Linked DNA regions of Homo sapiens: region 2 is linked to region 1. Evidence: promoter capture Hi-C in 16 types of primary human blood cells and fetal thymus (Javierre and others, 2016). All regions are on one chromosome and are shown on one strand. The core of a region is centred on a gene start or on the middle of the fragment in contact, and the rest is flanking DNA. Distances in the headings are between cores, read along the strand shown. Region 1 holds the start of TCTN1 (tectonic family member 1). Region 2 overlaps CCDC63 (coiled-coil domain containing 63).

Region 1 (2,700 bases), core at 21-2,520:
CCCTTTAAGATGTCTAAATTATTTTACTTAATTTTTGTAAAAGATTTTTGTCTTTAAATAGGTTCTTAGGCCTGGCGTGGTGGCTCATGCCTGTAATCCTAGCTCTTTGGGAGGCTGAGGCGGGAGGATCACTTGAGGCCAGGAGTTTGTGACTAGCCTGATCAACATAGTGAGACCCCCTCTCTACAAAAAATAATAAAAGGTATTAAGTGTTCATTTGTCCCCTTTATCACAATACAGCAGACAGAAGTTATCTGGCAACCTTGTGAGATGCAGCTAAAATAAAAAGGTGAAGCCAGTGTTGACAGAGTCTGGGATAGAGAAAATTCAGAGACAGTGATCTCACAGATCCCTGTGCTCCTTCCAAACACCCACGTTAGTGGCGTTGGGACGGCGCTTCCTAAATTTCCGTCCAACTCATCTGCTTGCGTCCGGACATTTGTTAAAAATATTTATTCCTGGCTGGGAGTGGTGGCTCACGCCTGTAATCCCAACTACTCAGGACTCAGGAGGCTGGAGCAGGTGGATCACTTGAACCAGGAGTTCGATACCAGTCCGGGCGACGGAGGGAGACCTCGTCTTTACAAAAAAAAAAAAAAAAAAAAAAAAATACAAAAATTAGCTGGGTATGGTGGCGCGCGCCTGAGTTCCCAGCTACTCAGGAGGCTGAAGTGGGAGGATTGCTTGAGTCCCAGAGGTCGAGGCTGCAGTGAGCCGAGATCGCGCTACTGCACTCCAGCCTGGGCGACAGAGTGAGACCCTGTCTCAAAAAAAATCCCCCAAAAACTGATTCCTGGGTCCTGCCCTAGACTAACTGACTCAGGATCTCCTGAGGTGGTACCTGGAAATCCGTCTTTTTTTTTTTTTTTTTTTTTTTTGGTTGAGACAGAGTGTCACACTGTCGCCCAGGCTGGAGTGCAGTGGCACGCTCACGGCTCTCTGTAGCCTTCACCTCCCGGGTTCAAGCGATTCTTCTGCCTCAGCCTCCCGAGTAGCTGGAACTACAGAAAATCTGCATTTTTTAAGCAAGCGCCGCGGACCGGTTGGAAACCACAGCCGGGATTTACACGCCCCTCGTTTACGCCAGCTTCACACCCGCTCACTAGTGCTCGCCCCTGTGCCTGCCATCGCTGCCTCACCCAGGCGCCGCCCTCCGGCCTCATCCGGGATCCGCCCCCTGCCTCATCCAGGCTTCGCCCCAGTCAGTCTCCGGCAGCTTCTCGCGGCTTCGCAAGCCCCTTCCCGTGATGCCCCGCGCCTGGCTGTCGCGGTTGCCGGGCAACGCGCTGTCCATGTCGCGGGCCTCGCTGGGACTCCCTGGGAGATGAGGCCGCGAGGTCTCCCGCCGCTCCTGGTGGTGCTCCTGGGCTGCTGGGCCTCCGTGAGCGCCCAGACCGATGCCACCCCGGCGGTGACGACAGAGGGCCTCAACTCCACCGAGGCAGCCCTGGCCACCTTCGGAACTTTCCCGTCGACCAGGCCCCCCGGGACTCCCAGGGCTCCAGGGCCCTCCTCCGGCCCCAGGCCTACCCCAGTCACGGACGGTGGGTACCATGTGCCAGCTCCTGGAGTCCACAGTGATCCAACCTCAAGGGGACAGCCCCGGTGAGGACGTAATAATGATAGCTAACTCTTATTGAGCACTTACTGTGTGCAGACACTGCTGAGTGTTCCATAAACGTCCATTCTCTAAACAATAACCCTGAGAAGTAGCTGTTACTATCACTGTCAGGTAAATGAGAAAACCGGGTCTCAGAGTTTAAGTGGAACGGTATCAAACCTTTGAAAATACTTGAAGTGGTCCCAGACAACAGTGATGCAAAGAGCAATAATGAATTCTTGCAGCCCAAGACGAAATTAAGTCGAGACAATGGTGGAAATTAGTGCCTTGGCTGCACTGAACTTTCACTTAAAGAGAGGCCAAAGGTCTATCTTACTAAATGTGACTATGTTAAGACCCTTCTCTGTTGACCTGAATTCTAAAAACCCAGGATTCCTCCTGTGTTGAATTGGAGGTGGAAAGCTATTGAGGGAGGGGTTATGCTCACTTCTTAGGAGTCATATGTAGGGATAATTAACATTTTTTTCAGAAAATGATTAATTCTAGAATTACACATTTAGTGGAAATATTTTATAATCTAATTTGACGTTTGGCTGGCGCCGTGGCTCACGCCTGTAATCCCAGCACTTTGGGAGGTCAACTCGGGTGGATTGCTTGAGGTAGGAGTTCAAGATCAGTCTGGTCAAAATGGCGAAACCCAGTCTCTACTAAAAATAGAAAAAATAGCCGGGCATGGTGTAATCCTAGCTACTCGGGAGGCTGAGGCAGGAGACTCGCTTGAACCCAGGAGGCAGAGGTTGCAGTAATTACCACTGCACTCCAGACTGGGCGACAGAGCAAGACTGTCTCAAAAAAAAAAATTGACATGGATGACTTCACTGAATGACTGTGACCCGCTAAGATTGAGTGCAAAACTTTGTGAATATGCCTTTTCCTGAGATGAGAGTTCATAGCAGCCGATTCTTAAAGTGGTTCATGATCTCAAAAAAAGTTTTTAAAATTTTCCGATTGTGTGAATTGAGAGTAACCCCAATAGATATGCAGTACTTTTAATCTTTTTTTATTCTTTTTTTGTTTTTGAGACAAGGTCTCGCTCTGTTACCCAGGCTGGAGTGCAGTGGCGTGATTATATCTCACTT
Region 2 (2,700 bases), core at 76-2,575, 270 kb after region 1:
GAACAGCCTGACCAACATGGTGAAACCCCGTCTCTACTAAAAATACAAAAAAATTAGCTGGACATAGTGGTGAGTGCCTGTAATCCCAGCTACTTGGGAAGCTGAGGCAGGAGAATCACTTGAACCCAGGAGGCAGAGGTTGCAATGAGCCAAGATCATGCCACTGCACTCCAGCCTGGGCAACAGAATAAGACTCTCAAAAAAAAAATGCCTAGTTAAATTTAAATATCAAATAAACAATAAATAAATGTTTAGGATAACTATGTCTCATGCAGCATTTGGGACATACTTATGATAAAACTTTTTTGTTTATCTATAATTGGGACATATTTATACTTAAAAATATATTTGTCTGAAATTCAAATTTAACTGAGAACCCTCTATTTTATCTGCCAACCCTAATTTACAGCATGTGTCTTCATCTGGGACTCTCTTTCTATTATTTAGAAGGAGACTTATTGTCAGGGGTCCCCAGGTTCATCTCTAGGTTTGATGATTCACTAGCATATCTCGCAGGACTCAGCACTGAGGCACATTCATGGCTGTGATGCATTACAGTGAAAAGGCACCAAGCAAGATCAGCACAGGGAGAAGGTGTGTGGTCCGGCGTCTGGAGGAAACTGGGCGCAAGCTTCCAAGTACAGTCACACTGAGCACACATGGTTCTTTCAGGATCTGTGACCACACATCATGTCAAGAGTTATCTACTAGGCTGGGCATGGTGGCTCATGCCTGTAATCTCAGTGCTTTGGGAGGCCAAGGCGGGAGGATCACTTGAGGCCAGGAGTTTGAGACTGGCCTGGGCAAATGAGCAAGACCCCATCTCTACAATGAATAAAAAAAAATTAGTTGGGCATAGTGGTACATGCCTGTGGTCCCAGCTACTCTGGAGACTGAGATGGGAGGATGGCTTGATCTCAGAAGGTCTGATGGTGACAAGGTGCTGAGGGGTAGAAAAAAGCAGATCCTAAGTCCAGGAGTTTGAGGCTGCAGCAAGCTATGATTGCGCCACTCCAGCCTGGGTGACAGAGTGAGACCCTGTCTCTTAAAAAAAAAAAGGTTATCTCATAGTGGGGTATACTAGAGATTCAGTACCCCAAATTCTTACTGGGGGCTGGTCGTGTAGACACCCTCTGCCTAGCACATACCAAAATTCTAGACACTCAGAGGAAAAGCAGGTGTTTGGGATAAACTGCTGGGCATGGTGGCACTTGCCTGTGGTCTCAGCTACTGGGGAGTCTGAGGTGGGAGGATCGCCTGAGCCTCCCCAGAACAGTGGGGAGCCACAACCTGTAAAAAGGTCACATGGTCAGGTGTGCCTAAACGATCCTTTTATTTATTTATTTATTTATTTTTAAGAAACAGGGTCTAGTTCTTTCTCCCAGGCTGGAGTGCAGTGGTGTGACAGTCACAGCTCACTTCAGCCTTGACCTCTTAGGCCCAAGCCATCCTCCCACTTTGCCCTCCCGAGTAGCTAGGACCACAGGCATTCAACACGACACTTGGCTAATTTTAAATTTTTTTTTTTTTTTTTTTAAGACGGAGTCTTGCTCTGTCACCCAGGCTGGAGTGCAGTGGCGCAATCTCGGCTCACTGCAACCTCCACCTCCTGGGTTCAAGTGATTCTCCTGCCTCAGCCTCCTGAGTAGCTGGGACTACAGGCACATGCCACCACACCCAGCTAATTTTTGTATTTTTAGAAGAGACGGGGTTTCACCATGTTGGCCAGGATGGTCTCAGTCTCTTGACCTCGTGATCCACCTGCCTTGGCCTCCCAAAGTGCTGGGATTACAGGCGGGAGCCACTGCACCCGGCCTAATTTTAAAAATTTTTTGTAGAGGTGGGGTCTTGCTATGTTGTCCATGCTGGTCTTGAACTCCAGGGCTCAACCCCTGTGCTGGGATTACAGGTGTGAGCTACCATGCCCGGCCAGGGCAGGGATTTTGTATCAGCAGTGCCTAGCACAGTGTGTGACTCATAGTAAATGCTTCTTGAGATATTTGTGAAATGAATGATGGGTGAAGCTTCTGCTCTATCTCCTGGAAACATCTAGCCTCATCCCTAAAGCATACTACTATATATATATTTTTTTGTTTGTTTGTTTGTTTTTTGTTTGCTTGTTTGTTTGTTTGTTTTTTGAGATGGAGTCTTGCTCCATCGCCCAGGCTGGAGTGCAGTGGCGCAAACTTGGCTCACTGCAACCTCTGCCTCCCAGGTTCAAGCAATTCTCCTGGCTTAGCCTCCCATGTAGCTGGGATTGCAGGCATGTGCCACCACACCTGGCTAATTTTTGCATTTTTAGTAGAGACGGGGTTTCGCCATGTTGGCTAGGCTGGTCTCGAACTCCTGACCTCAGGTGATCTGCCTGCCTCGGCTTCCCAAAGTGTTGGGATTACAGGCGTGAGTCACCATGCCTGGCCACAATAATATTGATCACGTTACTGTCTGCCTGGCACGGATCTGAGGAGCTTCCTTTTGAGTGTCACAGTGGCTGATTTTTCCTTTCCTAGCTCTCAAGGCAAAGAAGCATGTCAAGAAGAACAGGGGAGAGAGTTTTGAGAGCTATGAGGTGGCCCACCTCCGGCTGCTGAAGCTGGCTGAGAGTGGGAACCTAAACCAGCTCATTGAAGATTTTCTGGCCAAGGAGGAGAAGAATTTTGCTCGGTTCACGTATGTCACGGAGCTCAACAACGACATGGA

What was found. The method cuts DNA at HindIII sites, captures the fragments that hold promoters and counts their contacts. A CHiCAGO score of 5 or more calls a contact.
Region 2: a contact is called between a fragment that was not itself captured here and the fragment with the promoter of TCTN1 in region 1, in 5 of 17 cell types (M0 macrophages, M1 macrophages, endothelial precursors and 2 more). The highest score is 6.4, in M0 macrophages.

The regions. Positions count from the first base shown.
Region 1 is chr12:110,612,859-110,615,558 of GRCh38, forward strand. It overlaps TCTN1 (tectonic family member 1), which reads left to right and starts at 1,271. Exons shown (of 15, transcript NM_001082538.3): 1 at 1,271-1,544. The coding sequence starts at 1,325. RefSeq lists an enhancer at 1,548-1,597. The HindIII fragment of the contact is 6,908 bases long and covers 1-2,700 here.
Region 2 is chr12:110,881,520-110,884,219 of GRCh38, forward strand. CCDC63 (coiled-coil domain containing 63) reads left to right here. Exons shown (of 12, transcript NM_152591.3): 8 at 2,511-2,700. Among named protein-coding and RNA genes, the nearest start is that of CCDC63, 36 kb to the left of the region's middle. The HindIII fragment of the contact is 1,393 bases long and covers 630-2,022 here.